Regions from separate parts of the Homo sapiens genome. Here regions 2, 3, 4, 5 and 6 are each linked to region 1. Evidence: promoter capture Hi-C in 16 types of primary human blood cells and fetal thymus (Javierre and others, 2016). All regions are on one chromosome and are shown on one strand. Each heading gives the region's core, a stretch centred on a gene start or on the middle of the fragment in contact. The rest is flanking DNA. Distances are from core to core; before and after follow the strand shown.

Region 1 (2,752 bases), core at 95-2,594:
GTCAGCAAATCCTCTTCCTGCTCCCTAAGAAGAGTCCATGTTTGTGTGTTCATGGGTGGAAAGAAGGTCAGAGAAGACTTCATGAAGGAAGGGGCATTTAAGGAGGAATTTGAGGGTTCAGTAGGAGTTCACTGAGCACAGCAGGATCAAGGCCCCACCGGGCAGAGTGTGGATCATCTGCTGAGGTCTGGAGATGGAAGCAACTGGGTGTGGTGAACCCCCCAGGGGCTGGAGTAGGGGAGAGGGGTAGAAAGTGGCCTCCAGTGGCAGGGCCTGACTCTATCCTGATTTCCCTTCTCCCAGGCACTGGGCCTGCTCCCCACGCCCTCCTTAGATCCCTGTGGGTGGGGGCCCTTTAATGCCTCTCTGAGAGGCGGACTCTTACTCTGCAGGTGCCTCACAGCCAGGAAGTTCTTAATGTCTAGCCCAGGTACAGCCAGTCAACCCTCTTCTTCAGTTAGAGTCCTGGGCTGAGGGGGGCGGCTTCAGGGCCTTGACTTGCCCTTGGGGAGACACCGTGGGACAGGTGCCTTGGGAGATGGTTTCCTCTGCCCAGGGCACCCTCTGTCTCTCTCTGTCTCCTTATATCTGCCCAGGGAGGCTTCCCCTTGACCTGGCACAGGGATGTGGATTCTTGGTTGGACCCACCCCTCACCTCCCGCCTCCCTCAGGTTCTTTCTCCTTTGTCTCTTTCTCCTCTCTCCTGCCTCCTCCCATCCCACTCTGTCCCGAGGCTCCTTCTCACCCCACAGCCCAGGTCTCCGTCCCGTCCCGTGTGACTCTAGGTCTCAGGGGCTCAGTCTCCCTCTCTGAGATTCTTCACCTTGGCCCCCCGCACTCCCTGCTCCTCCCTTGGCGGCGTCTCCCGGGGGCTGGCGTGTGTGTCGGGGGGCTGGGGGCAGGGGTCACTCCCTGAACAGACCGCGGGAGGAGGGCCAGGACCCGCCCCCTCCTTCACCTCCAGGGCCTGGCGGGTCCCGAGAGCTCAGGTTCTAGACCGGTGGGTCCTGCCTGGAGGGCGGAGGTGGTTGGGTCTGCCCGAGGGTTCGAGGACGGCAGGGGCCCAGCGTGGCTAGGAGGGGGCAGAACCCCGGGCGCTCCCCTCCCCCCCTTTCTTAAAGGGCCCGCGCGGGGCAGAGGGGGACAAGGTGGGCCGCGCTCTCCCCGGCACGCTCGGGGTCCCGGGGCGAGCGCTGCGCTGCAAGCGGACAGGGCTGGGGGCCGCGCTTCCCTCCGGGCTCCGCGCCCGCCGCTCGCGCGCCCGCAGTGCCCCCGCCCTTCCCCGCCCTTCCCGCTCCTCCCTCCTCCTCCTCCTCCAGCTCACGGCTCCGCTCCCTCCCTCCTGCCGTCCGTCCCCCTCGCTCAGCCTCTCCACATCGCGGCTCCGGCACCTGAAGGGACGCGGGCGGGCGCGGGCAGCTCCGACCGGCGGCGGCGGGGCGGGACAGGCAGCCCGGCGGCCTCCGATGGCCCCGCCGTGAGAGGCCGGACCCGCGGCGGGGACCAGCAGCGGTGAGTGGGGCCGCGGGGCTCCGGGACCCGCCCCTCCCCGCTGGCGGCCAGGCCGGGGCGGGACGGGCCGGGGAGAGGGCCGCGTGCGGGTGGGGGGCGTCGCCCTCGCCCTCGGTGCCCACCCGGGTCCGCTAACAAAGCTACATTTCCAGATCAATTCCGCGGCGTCTGGAGCATCCGAAGGATACGGTTGTCATGGAGATGGGGCCGAGAGAGGAAGCCCGGGCTGGCCGGGTCTGGGCCGGGGAGAGGGGGCGCCGCGGGAAAGCCCGAGCCCAGCCTGAGGGACGGTGGGGGCTGCCGGGCCGATTGTCTCCCGGCTCCGCCACCCACTACCCTCTCCCCGCTTTTGTATAATCTGGGGGTACGCGTGTGCGTGGGGGGTGCCAGTGGCAGCCTGGTGGTCGGGGATCGGGGCATTGGGTACCGGGGCCTGCCGGCAGCCACCTTCACGAGGCTGCAGCTTTGAGGATTTATTTCTGTTTCCAGTTTCCCAACTTTGACAGCCCTGCTTGGCGGCCAGGCCTCCCCGGCTCTGCAGCTAGAGCGGGGGCTCGCACGGGGGCGTGGCAGTCAGGGCTGAGGAGGCACATAATGGCCGAGGCGGCAGCGGGAGGGAGGGGTCCCAGGAGCGGGCTGCTGGGGCTGGGTGCAGAGGGAGTCCAGACTGGGGACAACCCTGCCCAGCGGGCCCCCTCGGAGGAGGAGGTATTCAGCTGTTCCTAGAGGATGCAGGGACTCCCCGGAATGATCACTGGGGGCATTGTTTTTGCATAGGCCCAGGGGGCCACTGTCTCAAGCCCACCCCTTTGTCTTGGGGCCATCTTGGGGGGGCCAGGAAGAGAACAGGGAGCAGAAGCAGCAGTCACAATGGAAGAGGGCCTAAGACTCCTGGCAGCCTGGGGATAAGCCAGGCTGAATTTGATGGGGATCAGCGAGAGGGCTCAGGATTTGGCCAGGGCAGGTGGGCAGCCTGGGTTTGGACTTTCCTGGGTTCCCCAGTTCCTTTTTCTAGATCCTACAAACAAGAGCTGCTTAATAGTGGTTGGGGGTGGGGGGGTTCACTGGGCTGGGACTGCCTCCAAACCCAACCCGTGGCCCAGGGCAGTTGCAGTCGTTCTTTCATTCTTCCACCCTCTCCCCAGGACTTTAGGAACCTGTCTCCCAGGGAAGCTACAAGTTCTGGGGCCTGGGATCTCCGAATCAGTAAAATGTGCCTGCTGTCCTCCCAGCAGCCCCT
Region 2 (2,752 bases), core at 168-2,667, 370 kb after region 1:
CATGATCGGACCATAGATCTGTCTTTTAACCTGTACCTTCTCCTAGGGTGCAGACAGGGAGGCAGGAAGGGGATTACTGGAGGCTGCAGTAAACTAGAGAACAAGCTCTGTGCAAAGGAAGCCTCTCTTACCATTCAGCATCTCAATGAATTAACCCTCACAACAGCTCTATGTGGTTGGTCCTATTATTATTCCCATTTCTTAGATGGGGAAACTGAGACTCAAAAAGGTGGAGTAAGTAGTGCTGGGTCCCAAGGTGAGGACATAGGGGAACCATGGCTGGAACACAGGCCTCTGGACACTCCGAATCATAGCATTGCCCTGTGTCCCCTTCAGTGGGAAAAGTCACTTCATCTCTTAATCTTAAATGATCTTCCAAGCAAGAGGAGGGGAGAGGAGGAGTATAAGCTTTCTTTGTCCCATCTTTTTCAGAAGGTATCTAAGTCCTTCCTGTGTGTGTCTTCCAAAGATACAGTACCAGGACCTAGAGAGGCTGAGATTTAGAGCCTCATGGTGCAAACTCAATTGTAGGGTCCTAGCCAGGACTACTTGCCTGTATCTTCTAAGAATCTCACAACAGTGCCACATGCCTCAGCTTTATCCAAGCAACAGAAGGAGGTGGTGGAGGTGGTGATGGCAGCAGCAGCAGCAGCAGCAGCAGTGGCAGCAAATCTGTCCCCAGTGCACTACAGTACTGTTTTGCTATGATGAAATACACATGGCATATGGCTACAAAGTTACTATCTTGAGAGTGGATAGAAATGGGATTTTTCATGTGCCAGATTTCACTTCCCTTTCTGAAACAATTCTTGTAGTAAACAGAGGTTTTCTGATCTTGCTAAGATCAAGAGGATGGGAATTCCTTTACACTTTTAAAGTAAGACCACTGTCTTGTAGAGTTTCAGTCTGTTGATGGTGCAAATGTTTTTTAAACATGGACGCTATTCTGTGTTCCTCCCTCTTTCCTTCCAAAGGCTACGACACAAAGAGGAGCTGCTAACACCAGATGACCAACTCCTTTCCAGTTACGGACCATCCCGGTGATGAGACCTCCATATGTTGTCTGATGGCCGCAGTTCCTTGGCAAGTGGGTGGGGAAAAGGAAAGTTGTGTTGAGTGTGGGAGGCCACAGGGTGGAGGAGGTTAGGAAGGACCAGAAAGCACATAGAATGTGACTTTAAGGAGGAGAATTTTTTTGAACCATGTCTTGTGTGCTGACAGCATAATGATCATTATTAGGGCCTCAGATGTAACATGAAGCCCACCCTGAAGTTAAATTTTCCTTTTCAGAGAAGCGTGGCCTGTCAGCCCAGCATCAGATGGTTCCATGCCAACCTCCTCCATGGCTAGGTGTTGGAGCGCCCCAGCTGCTGCCTCCCTGGTAGCTTTCATTAAAGGACTTTGCTTTTTTGGTAAATAAGGGCCCCATTTTTCTACCTTAGTCTTTGAAAATCAACCTGAGAAACACTTTGTGTAAGTACCACAGATGTATTTGCAGTTTTCTACACACATTTAGTTTCTGGGGTTTTTCGTTGTTTTTTGTTTGTTTGTTTTTTGAGATAGAGTTGCCCAGGCTGGAGTGCAGTGGCATGATCTTGGCTCACTGCAGCCTCCACCTCCCAGGTTCAAGTGATTCTCCTGCCTCAGCCTCCCGAGTAGCTGGCATTACAGTTGTGTACCACCACGTCCACCTAATTTTTTGTATTTTCAGTAGAGATGGTGTTTCACCATGTTGGCCAGGCTGGTCTTGAACTCCTGACCTCAAATGATCAACTGCCTTGGACTCCCAAAGTGCTGGGATTACAGGCATGAGCCACTGTGCCCGGCTGGCCAACTAGTTTCAAGGTTGCTATCTGGAATCCTACCTCCCCAGGCACCCTCCTGGTCACAGCATGACCTCTAACAGAGGGGCAGATCTGTAGCCTTAGTTGTACCCAGACAAATTTGGTTTGGCTTTCATGGTATTTTGAAATTGGTTTTCATGTCAAAATCCTGTTTGCTGGCTTCTCTTGAAAAATCAGAAAACTTGGCCACATTGAGTTATATTCCTGAATGTCAAGTGGCTGGATCTGAATGAGTAGTGCTCCCTTTGCACAGAGCATGTTATCTGATATGCCTCAGTCCCTACCACTTCCCACCATCCCCCGCAACCACACCCCAAGAGAAAATATGAGCTAAAAGGCAGATATAGATATAGGTGTTCTGGTCTTGACCCTACCACTCATTTCCTGTGGCTCCTTGAACAGGTGTCTACATCTCTTAGGAAGAAGAGAATAATGAGATGATGTATGCAGAGCACTGGCAGAAAGCCTAGCATAGAGGAATCTGAGGATTCGCCATGCATGCTTCCTGGTATATAGTACTAGTTCTTGTCAATGGCACAGAGACTTGAAGACTGTATATAAATGGACACACCTACTAGAATGTAAGCTTCATATGCACAAGGACTTTAAAAAATCTGTTTTGCTTATTTCTACATCCCCAGGGCCTAGAGCAGTCCCTGGCACATGGTAGGCCATAGGCCCTCAGTAAATGTGTTGAATGAATATGTGGATTTAATATTTCCCTGACTTATTTTCTTATGTCATGTGCTAAGTCATCGGTCCATTTTAAAAATATAAATGCAAATAGACTTATAAGCTGATTATTTCTAATTTATATGTGTTGAATTTATTTTCTTAATTACTGAAAAGATTAAAAAGCAGAAGGATGCTTCATAGTTGACGGAACTTCATTGCCATAGTCATTTGAC
Region 3 (2,752 bases), core at 166-2,665, 350 kb after region 1:
ACTGGGTTGCAAACTCCAGACATTAACTTTCTTTAGCATCTGGAACCTGGGTCCTAGGAGACTATTTCCTCCTTACTTCATCCAGACATCAAAAATAGACCCAGCAATTGATCCCATGTTTAGAGGCCCTCAGTGACTCTGCATCCCCAAGGGGAGCCTCATCTCCCAGGACACAGCACTGACACTCTGCAGACAGTACAGGGGATCTACTCCAAGCCCAGGGCAAGACCCCACACCCACTCCCTCTGTCCTTCAGTTCCCGTATGTGTCTTAGACTCCCTGGCCCTGCAAAGGCAAGGAGTGACCTGAAGTCCAGAGCCTCACATGACCACAAGACCCTCAGGTCTAAAGAGTGGCACTTGTTGGAGCCCTGCTCCTGTCCCCACCCTTAGGAGGCTCTGGGAATGGGGTGGGGGAATAGCCTGTGTGGCCATGGCCTCTGGCTCTGGCTTAGACTACTACCTTGCTGCAGTATTGTGTCTTCCTCAAATTTTCTCATAGGTGAGTGCTTACCAGGAGTGGCTCCCACAGAGCTTCCCCATTCACCCAAACCTGTCTGGAAGAGCACCCCAGTTCAGCCACCCAAACCTCACCTCTCACCCTCTTCCAGTTAGCACTGCCTTTTCTCCTTATCCCTGCCAGGGACCCCTTTCTTCCCAGGAGAGATACCCAAATTGTGAGTATCCCACACAATTTAATGGGAACCTACTTTGTGCCAGGCACCAGGCCACGGGTTGTGGATGCAAAAACAAACAAGAAGCAATTACTGCCCTCCTAGAGCTCATGGTGGTTGATGGGGAAATTTATTCCTTTATTCATTCATTCACTAAAATGTACACTGAGCACCTACTGTGTGCTACGCCCTGGGGAGTGCTAAGTTCTTAGGTAGACAGCGATGAAGACAAGTATAGGATTCTGGGGATTCTGCCATCCTTAGAATGCCACCGTGTAGAGTCATGGTTTATAGGGGACACAGACATTAATCAAACCACTTGGCAAGCAGAGAATTATAAGCCATGATAAAGAGAATCACAGGATGCTTTGAGCACCTATAGAAAGGCCAGGAGACAGGAAGCCCGGCTGAATGGGAAGGACCATGGGAGGTGCAGGAGCCAGGCATATACCTGGTAGAACTTGGCTTGGTGCTTATCTTCCTCCTGAAACATGACCCTAGACCCTTGAGAACGTCCCTTCCTGTGCCCTATCCCTCATTCCCCACACCGAGAAAATCTGCCAGCCCCTCTGCATGGCCCCTCCCTCTCTGAGGATACCCGGGCATCTCTCCTTGCTTCCTGTTGATTGGTGGCAGGAGGTTCTAGTGCCCCGCATGGTCACTGACTGAAGTTTTCAGGCCAGCTAAGGGGTGGGGCTTCAGGCTTGTGCGGCCGCTGAGTCCCAGCCTTCTGTGTTCCATGGACCATGGGAGGAGGAGCTGGGATTGGGGCATTTAATGAAAGAACTCCTAGGAGAGGAGTGATGAGGTTTGGCACATTGACATTCACACACCCCACCCACCCCCAGCCTCCACTCCACTGGTTCTCTGGCCTTCTCATTTTTTTTTTTTTTTTGTTTTTTTTTTTTTTTTGGAGACAGAGTCTCTCTCCATCACCCAGGCTGGAGTGCAATGGCACAATCTCGGCTCACTGAAAGCTCTGCCTTCCGGGTTCATGCCATTCTCCTGCCTCAGCCTCCCGAGTAGCTGGGACTACAAGCGCCCACCAGCACACCCGGCTAATTTTTTGTATTTTTAGTAGAGACAGGGTTTCACCGCGTTAGCCAGTATGGTCTCGATCTCCTGACCTCGTGATCCGCCTGCCTCGGCCTCCTAAATTGCTGGGATTACAGGCTGGCCTTCTCATTTTTAAGGCCTGGCTAGGATAAGTTCCCCACCCCTGTCCCTCAGAAGAATGGCAGGGCCTGGGCAGCAGAGCCCTGGGCCTGGGACCCATCCAACAAAATGGCTATTCCAGACGCCTGGTCCTGCCTGGCTTTGACTTCTCATCCACTCTACACTGTGACATGGATCTGGGTGGGGCAGGCTGCTCTGCTTCCAGGTAAGGACTGTGCCACCCACGCAGCCAAAGACCACCTTGGGAATACCAGTACCTGGGCAAGAGATAGCCCCTGCAAGGCCCACCCACCATAGGCTGGCTCAGAGAAGGCTGAGGATCCCTGTGTTCTCCCTGAACAGGGGTACAGGGCCCCTCAGCAGGGCCAGCTCCTCACCAGGGTGCCAACCCATGGCTGGTGGCTGGGAGGAGGGTGCTATGCAATGCTGGGAGCTTGACCCAGGCCTCAGCCTTAAGGAGCAAATGTGTCCAGGGCCACCAACTGGCCTAAGTCCTTGGGCATAGCCTCTGTCTCATGCCTCTTGATCTCACCAGGGGGGATCTCCAGGGTGGCCCGCCTGGGAATGCCTGTCCCTCAGCTGGCACACAAGTACCCATGGCAGTGCCGCAGGTTATCCAGCAGCAGCCACAACAGATAAGGCAGCCTGCCACCTCAGGCAGCCGTGGTCTCTGTTTTGCTTCCTTTTCTCTTTAGGATGAGACTGATGAGGGTGGGGTGGGGATTAACCCTTGAGTTGCTATACGTAGTTTGGCCCAAGCCTAGGACTTTGGGAAGTGCTTTATATCACTGCTTTCTTCCTGTGGCCCTGGCCTTTGCAGATGTGGGTCTCTCGGCCTCCCCTTCTGCCAGAAGCCTTCCCTTCTGCCAGACACTCCATATTCAGGGTGGCCACAACACTGGT
Region 4 (2,752 bases), core at 118-2,617, 330 kb after region 1:
ATTTGATCCTGAAAACCTAAATTTAAGGTATAGGCCATTTGACACGTCCTTTTTGAACAGAAATTTCATTACAGGCTAAGTGAAAATAAGCCAGAATTAGCATGAGTCAGGTAGAATTTCATGATAAAAGAACAACCAGATGAAATAAGAAATAATGATTGGTTTCAAGCCAATGAATCTGCTAAGCTAACTACCAAGTTTTGATGTTGAATGGTCCAGGCAATTTATGTCTTTAGGAAAGCTGAGTGTGGCAAAGGTCACTTGTTAACATTTTTCTTAACAAGAATGTCATAACTACTCATTCATTTTTATTTTGTCCCCACGTTTGGTATTTGTTTTGTTTTGTGTTTTTCCTTCCTGATGTCCTTTGCTTTTGTGGAAGATTGTCCTGTTGATAGGCAGAAACATGGTGGTGATCCTCTATGTAAAATATAGTTGCTTCTTACACATCAGAAGTATTTCACTCATTTTGGAATCACAGGATTTTCATGTTTTCATAAATACACACATTGTTTTGATAATTATTAGCAATTAGCTTATTTTGTAGCATTAGATGGAAAAATGTTTAAGCTAAAGAGTTTAATTTTCTTGATTTTGGTTCCACTTTAATAATTCAAGAGGCCTCCAAGTTCAAGGACCAAGTCCTTCTATTTTAGAATTGTGAAAAACATGGAAATACTCTTGTTAGTGTGTGTTTTGGTCTAAGGTAGATTATTAACACAGAAGGATCCTAGGAGGATTTAAGAAAATATGTCCTTATCGTGAAGTGGCAGTTAAAGTTATGGGACAGGTGAATTACCTATTCATCTTGACTAGCTCAAACAATGATAGCCATCAGCTAATGACTTATCAGACACATGTTGAGTTTGGGTCAAACTCCCATTCAGCTGGAGTGGATTGGCAATTTTAAATGCAGGTAGTTGGTGGTGGTACTTGACCTACCTCCTTACCATGTACATCTGGCATCTTCTCTCTCCTATCCTTTTTCTTTGTTTCTCTCTCCACTTTTACTCTTGCTGTAGGCCTACCAGTGGCACTCAAGCTTACTTCTTCAGAGAGAAGTAAAGAAATTTCTGACTCCTGCCTTAGAACATAGCTAACTGATGATCCAGAACAATTTCAGTATTATGAGGTAACTGGGCAGTTTTTTTCTGATTGCTATTTTCCCCATAGTCTTAAGCTGGCAGTTTGAAGGTATCTAAATTAATGTTAAGAAACTTGTGAACTGAAGAGAGTAAGAAGTATGTGTATTTTAGGTAAGTTACTGGGAACTGAGACTTACTGGTTTGGAAATTGGAGAGTAGGACGAGGAGAGCTGTTTAATGTGTTTGTGGATGGGGGTTTGAGAGGTATATAGAGAATGGTTTGGAAATAAAGTGAGAGGAATTTTTACTAGAGGTAGGAAAAGGTACTATGATGGAGTCCGAATGAGAGTTATTTGCTAAGGAAATGAAGTTGATCTTCACTAAGGAAGTTTCAATAAAGCCAGAGAAAATGGGTCCCTCATTGATTATGAGAAAGCTGTTAGTTACTATAGCTAGAGTTATGATAATGATCATGCATTATACAAGTCTGTTTTCATGTATAGGATGTCTGCTTTTCTGGGACAAATTAGCACAATTGTGGAATGACAGCTTTTCTGGTCAAGGCAAGTGGATGCTGGGGAGTTATTATTTTGAGGAAAAGAAAATTTCAAGCTTTTCACCATTATTCTTTTTAAACTATCAGAAATATTTATCACACATACTATCTATTTTCTTGGGCTCTTGTTACAATGTAGTTTACCTTTACTTTTCAAATGGTCCTTAGATCAAATTATTTGATTTTGTACTCCACAAAGACACATATTATTCCTTGCTTTTATAGAATTTTGAGACTTTGGCCCACACAAATTTCTTAGAAGACAATAAACCAGGTAAAAACACTAACTTGCAATTTTAGGTGTCTTTTTTATTTCTTTTACATTTGCATCCGTAGCAACCATTTAACCTTGTAGACCTTATGAGGCCCTCAATAATACTGTATTTCTAAAATTAGACAACATACCCCCCAAACTCATGTTTCTGTTTCCCTACTTTCTCTCTTACTTTAAAATTGTAGTATTCCCAAGAGTTCAGTGGTGGCAAATGTTAATAAAATAAGTTAGTACATTTTGGAGGTTCTTATATCCTTTGTAGGGTAAGCTGATAGTGTTTAGATTTCTGTTCCCATTATTCCAGTAGTGTTTTAAATTATTTAAGATAAATAATTACTGTAATGTTTGTTTTTAAGTTACATAATTCAAGTATGTTTGGATTAACTCTTTGTTGTCAAATTTAGTATGGATTTATTCCTGGTGATTTGGACAGATTACTTTGAAGTTTCATTTTACTCACATCTCTATATATTAGTGATAAAAATCTCTTTTAAAAATAGCAAAAAAGTGGTTCTGATTTTGTACTTTGAAGGTAATTTTTCTTTTTTACGAATGTCAGGTTCATTAACAATAGCAGGATTATTTTTACTATAGCTTATTTTGTAGAGTTGGCACTTTAGTATAATTTTCACATTTTATTGTGTCAGATTTTAAATTATAATAGTTATATACTATAACTCATTTAAGTCAATGCAAAGCCTTCTTAAATAGCCCCTCCCTTAGAAATTTGTTTAAAAAGAAGTGAATTCCCAAACCTGTGTCAAGAACTTGTGATTTAAATGACTGTGAGACAAGTCCTTGAAAGGCTTAAGTCTAGTCAGTGGAGATAAATGATAG
Region 5 (2,752 bases), core at 81-2,580, 300 kb after region 1:
AGGACTGAAATAATCCTGGTCCTTTTTTTTTTTTTTGAGATGGGTTCTTGCTATGTTGCCCAGGCTTGTCTCAAACTCCTGGGCTCAAGCCATCCCCACAAAATGCTAGGATTGCAGGTATAAGCCACTGTGCCCAGCCAATCCTGGTTCTTTAAGTTAGAGCAAACTCCTCTCTTCTTCCAGGAAGATAATATTGGCTGCCTTGAGAAGAAAAACAAAAGATGCTTCTTTGCTTTAATCCAACATAGATGTAAGAACAAAATCTGATAAAGGTATCACAACTAAATAAATGCTACTGAGAAATCTTACTTAAGAATAATGATGGAAAATAGTAACTAAAATACTAGCAAACAAAATTCAGTGACATCTTAAGAGAATTAAACACCAGACCAAGTGAGATCATATCAGGAATGCAAGGATAGTTCAACATTAGGAAACTTATTGTGATAATCATATTAACAATCAAAAGAGAAAAGTATATTACCTTCTCTTTTGAGTGATTTATTGATTCATTCATCCCGACAATTATTTATTAAGCACCTACTATGTGCCAGGTGCTATACTAGATGCTTGGGATATGGCAGTGAGCCAAAATGGAAAAAATCTCTGCCCTCAAAAGCTTACATTTTCATCAAGGGAGATATACAACAAATGATTAAGCAAATAAATAATAACACCTGGTAGTGATAAGTGCTATGAAGAAAATAAAGCAGGCTAAAAGAGAATGATGGGAAGGATGCTATTTAATATAGGTGACTGGGGAAGGCCTCTCTGTTAAGATTATACTTGAGCAAGATCTAAAGGAGGTAAGAAAGCTAGCCAAGGGAATATCTGGGGGAAACTCATTCCAAGTAGAGAGAAAAGCAAATGCAAAGGCCCAGAACTGGGAGAGTGCTTAGCATTCTCCTAAGGTCACTGAAATGGCTGGACTAGAGTAAGCAAATTGGAGACTAGAAGAACACAAGATCAGAGAGGAGGAGGGCAGAGGAAACAAATCATATATGACCCGTAGGCCATAGTAAGGACATTGGCTTTTATTCTGATTGAGACCTATTATCACTAGAAGGTTTTGAATAGAAGCATGACATGATCTGGGCTCTGTAATAAAAAGACTGTTCTGACTGCTAGGTTGAGAACAGACTCCAGGGATAAAGGTAGAAGCAAGTGACGAGATAGGAGAATGCTGCAGCAGTACAAGTAAGAAATTATGGTGGCTGGTATTCAGGATGGCAGTAGTGAATGTGGTGAGAGGTGGTTACATTCTAAATATGTAACGAATTCTATTATACTATGAAGCTGCTGATGTACATGAAAATATTTAATCTGTATCAATTCAGTTTCTCCAGAGAAGGATCCTCTTATCTCCTCCCTAGGGATAGCAACAGTCTGGCTGCTAGCTTTCTGAAGCTGGGTCAGGAAAAATGCATAACATTCTGCTTTAGAGTTCAGTTTTATGTTTTTATACCATATCCTTGTTTTCATACCCATTCCTTAGAGCCTGATATACCCAAGTCCACATCCTTTCTAGTTCAATTTTTCCAAAGAAGATACCTTCTGTCTCCTGTATGGGGAAAGAGAGGAAAGTGTCTATTTGGGGTGGAAGTAGGAGTAAGGATCTGGGTCCTATCTGATCCTTATATAGACCTTCCAATAATCCAGCCCCTTTCAGCCCCTTCCCTCCTTGCACATATACTTCACCTGCTGTGGCTTTCTGAGGTTCCATAAGACAAATTAGTGTGCTTCTTGCTGGTGTTCTCTTCCTCTGCAGTACCTAGGTTTGAATTTCCTCTGCCTTGCTAAGTCATTTTTCATTTCTCCATCCACTTTTAGCCTTCATATACTATGCCTTCGGGTTAAAGATGTTTCCTAATGTCATTGAATATGGAGTCTGTGTTTTTATTTCTTGTCTTCCTCATACAAATATCTTTAAACATGTTAAAATATGCCTAATATCACTTAAATTAGAAAACAGCATGTTAAAACTTTAATAAGTTACTACTTTCCACCAACAGATTAGCAAACATCATTTACAAGGTTATTGGCAAGCTTCAGTTGCTTGCTGGCTGTTGGCTGGAAATCTCAGTCCTCTGCCATGAAAGCCTTTCCATAGGCAAGTTGCCTGAGTGTCCCCAAGACCAGGAGGCTGACTTCCCTCAGAACAAGTGAGAGAAGAGAGAGCTCAAGACAAAGGCTGCAGTGTTTTTTAAAATAGCTTTTTAAAGATATAATTCATATACCATACAATTCATTTATTTTCAGTGTACAATCCAATGGCTTTAGTATATTTAGTTTTGCATCCACCACCACAATCAATGTTAGAATATTTTCATTACTTCCAAAAGAAACCCCACACCCAGCCATCACCCCCAACCCTACCTTAACCCTAGAGCCCTAGGGAACTACCAATCTACTTTCTGTCTCTCTATATTTGTCTATTCTGGACATCGCACATAAATGGAATCATACAATATCTGGTCTTTTGTGACTGACTTATTTTACATAGTATGTTTTTAAGGTCTAACCATGTTGTAGCATGTGTATTTCATTTATTTTTATTAGGCGCTCTTTTCTTTTGCTGTCTTCTAGTGAAATTCCTTTTTATTTCTACTTATATATTCAGATTTTTTTTTTTGAGACGGAGTTTCACTCTTGTCGCCCAAGCTGGAGTGCAGTGGCACAATCTCGGCTCACTGCAACCTCTGCCTCCCGGGTTCAAGCGATTCTCCTGTCTCAGCCTCCCAAGTAGCTGGGA
Region 6 (2,752 bases), core at 96-2,595, 260 kb after region 1:
TTGAGAAAACAAGAGAGATGAGCGTAAGAGCACAAAGAGAGGAGCTGGTCTTTGACAAGAAAAATTATTCTTTTATCAAAACAGGAAGGAAGACAGACCATGGGCACAGTATAGAAGAATGGATACAGATTAGTTTATAGAGCTGAGTAATGGAATCTTCATTTTAACACAGGGCTGAAGCCATAAGCGAAAACAAAAACCAAAAAGAGAGAGAAAAGAGGAATGCAAGCTGGAAAGGAAAAAGGTGGTATGCATGTGGAAGGGGAAGAAGGGACACTGTATTCTTCCTTTTTTTCTTTAAAGAAATCCATTTGACTAATATAAGAGAGGATTAAACTTTTCCACGATCTGAACTGTTGGTGTCCACCCTACAAGATACCCCTTTCTCTGGATCACAATACCTAGGAAACCAATTTAGTAATCACAAGATTGCTCGATGATCAGAGTTTCTGGGCAAAGGGAATGAATAATCTTGAGTTCATTTCATTCAAGGTGTTAAAAAAAAAAAAAGCCTGATGAGCTATCTCTGATACATGTAACAGGGTACACATGCTTGCTACATTCAGCTTATCTCTCCCCTGAACAATGTTGGAAACGAAGCGACACAATCTCAAAATCCAGTTTGTGGAACAATCTACCTGAGACCTATTTAATCTTATATCTATTTGGAAGTACATCTTCCAGCCATTAAGAAAATTGAAAACCACTAGAGGCAAAATGTATCAGGCAGAGTCCCAAGCAGGAAATACTATTCTATTCAAAACAGTTTACTGAAAATAACTTATTAAAGGGACTATCTACAAAGATGTGGGCCAAGTTAAGGGAAACAAGACTCAGTAGAGACACCCAGGGGCCTGCAAGAGTGGTAAAACATTCCCTTCCCTCGACATACAGGGGTGAGGTGAAGAAGAAGTGTCACCAGATCCCAGTAAGTACTGGAGCCACATCGAAGGGGCCGTCAGGCAGCTCCTGCAAGAATGTGGCACTAAAGTAGGGAGAAAGAAGGGGGAAGAAACAATCTAGTCTCTCCTTTCTGCTCTTCCTCCTACCCCCATGCCAAGCTTCTGCTGAATGAACCACAGTCAGAAGCCAGAGGATGAGGGAACCCACAGAGGTCAATGTACAGGGTTCCAGGCAGGACAGGGAAGGGCAAAGAGTGAATCTGATGGGTGGGAGTCTGGGGGCAAACAGTATAACTAGCGCAGGAAGATAAGCTATTCTTACATGAAACAAAGAAGCACCTAAATAGGAATGCCAACCTTGGACTATTTATGGAGCACTAAATTTATGATAGAGAGGAGGGAAGGGGAGAGGGAAAGCGAAGTAAAACTCTCATTCATACGAAGATAACAGTAACTCTTAGCTTTCATTCATCTCTCTTACTAGACCAGAGATTTGGAAAAGGGGGAGATATTATTTTGCATTTTGTTTTATTCAAGAGAAGCCTTTATTTTCCCCTTATTATTAGAAGGCAAAAAATCCTAGATATAAAAATATTTGTTTGACTCTTTGAGAAAAAAGAATCCAGTACAGATTTTCATATCCTATTATCCTTATACTACTATTCCCACCTCCCCTCCACGTGCACCACTGGAAAGAGGCTAAACCTCCAGGAGATACTGGCTTACCGAAGCTTAAATTTAGACAAAAGAACTGATGCAGACATTTGAGGTCACTAAGCTTCTGTCACCATATGGACATAATCAAACAGAAGGCAATACAGCATTGTGGTTAAGAAGGTAGGCTCTGAACCCAGACTGCCTGGGTTTAAATGCATGTTCTACTACTTACTAGCTGTGTGACCTCCAGCAAATTACTCCTGTCATCCTCCATATCATCTGTAAAATGGGGATAATAATAGTACGTATTCTACAGTGTTAGCTTATGAGGATTACATGAGATACTTCATGTAAAGTACTTAGGGTACAGTCTGCCATATAGTAAATGCTTAATAAGAGTCTTACTATTAATAAAGCCAATTTTCTGATTCTGAAGTATTATGCAATCAATTATATTTCTCTTTAATAACCTGGTCTTTGTCTCCTCTCCATATGTTTAGATTCTTCTCCAGAATCAATCTCTCTCTCATTCTGTCTCTCTCTCTCTCTCTCTCTCTCACACACACACACACACACACAGCAGATAGTGGAGTCCTCATTTCTCATTTATATCAAAGATGTTTGGATACTCTTTAATTCATTCATTTACTCATATCTTTATTGAGCACCTACTATGTTCCAGATACTGTACTAGGTGCCGGGCATAATATAAAAGTGAGGAAAAAGCAGACAAAGTCCTTACTCCTAAGAAGCCTGCGATCCAGTGAGGGATACAACATTAATCAAATTACTACAAATAAATATTATATGATATTTACTATCTTATAGTACACTACTAAGTACTATCATATAGTATTTATTTGTAGTAATTACATTAATGAAAAACCTGAGCTGCAATATCACAATACACTTACGGGCATTGTCCATCAGCTCAGGTTTTTCATCATCTAGAGAAAAAGAGGAGCAGAATTCCATGAGCTACAAGTGAGACACCAGGCTTTGCTGTCCAATGTGGTAGTCACCAACCACATGTGGCTATTTATATTTTAGTTGTAAGTAACTAAAATTAACTATAAAGTTTTAAATTATGTTTCTCATTTGCACTAGCCACTTTTCAAGCATTCAGTCATCATATGTAACTAATGGGTACTGTATTGAACAGTGAAAATACAGAAGATTTCTATCATTGTAGA

Evidence for each region. Contacts are between HindIII fragments. The CHiCAGO score rates a contact against its expected background, and 5 or more counts as called.
Region 2: a fragment that was not itself captured here is called in contact with the fragment with the promoter of PSD2 in region 1 in 5 of 17 cell types (endothelial precursors, M1 macrophages, neutrophils and 2 more); the score reaches 8.5 in endothelial precursors.
Region 3: a fragment that was not itself captured here is called in contact with the fragment with the promoter of PSD2 in region 1 in 6 of 17 cell types (neutrophils, M1 macrophages, M2 macrophages and 3 more); the score reaches 7.8 in neutrophils.
Region 4: a contact is called between a fragment that was not itself captured here and the fragment with the promoter of PSD2 in region 1, in 1 of 17 cell types (erythroblasts). The highest score is 5.3, in erythroblasts.
Region 5: a fragment that was not itself captured here is called in contact with the fragment with the promoter of PSD2 in region 1 in 1 of 17 cell types (endothelial precursors); the score reaches 5.0 in endothelial precursors.
Region 6: a contact is called between a fragment that was not itself captured here and the fragment with the promoter of PSD2 in region 1, in 2 of 17 cell types (M0 macrophages and M1 macrophages). The highest score is 5.3, in M0 macrophages.

The regions. Positions count from the first base shown.
Region 1 is chr5:139,794,464-139,797,215 of GRCh38, forward strand. It overlaps PSD2 (pleckstrin and Sec7 domain containing 2), which reads left to right and starts at 1,345. Exons shown (of 15, transcript NM_032289.4): 1 at 1,345-1,512. RefSeq lists a silencer at 864-1,063. The HindIII fragment of the contact is 8,840 bases long and covers 1-2,752 here.
Region 2 is chr5:140,166,391-140,169,142 of GRCh38, forward strand. It overlaps LOC101929719 (a long non-coding RNA gene), which reads left to right. Exons shown (of 5, transcript NR_130738.1): 3 at 975-1,083; 4 at 1,291-1,412; 5 at 2,247-2,395. Among named protein-coding and RNA genes, the nearest start is that of CYSTM1, 7.4 kb to the right of the region's middle. The HindIII fragment of the contact is 2,022 bases long and covers 407-2,428 here.
Region 3 is chr5:140,147,405-140,150,156 of GRCh38, forward strand. No RefSeq gene overlaps it. Among named protein-coding and RNA genes, the nearest start is that of IGIP, 23 kb to the left of the region's middle. The HindIII fragment of the contact is 3,283 bases long and covers 1-2,752 here.
Region 4 is chr5:140,120,552-140,123,303 of GRCh38, forward strand. It overlaps PURA (purine rich element binding protein A), which reads left to right. Exons shown (of 1, transcript NM_005859.5): 1 at 1-2,752. Among named protein-coding and RNA genes, the nearest start is that of IGIP, 4.0 kb to the right of the region's middle. The HindIII fragment of the contact is 655 bases long and covers 1,041-1,695 here.
Region 5 is chr5:140,089,947-140,092,698 of GRCh38, forward strand. No RefSeq gene overlaps it. Among named protein-coding and RNA genes, the nearest start is that of MALINC1, 17 kb to the right of the region's middle. The HindIII fragment of the contact is 1,427 bases long and covers 618-2,044 here.
Region 6 is chr5:140,054,527-140,057,278 of GRCh38, forward strand. No RefSeq gene overlaps it. Among named protein-coding and RNA genes, the nearest start is that of NRG2, 13 kb to the left of the region's middle. The HindIII fragment of the contact is 572 bases long and covers 1,060-1,631 here.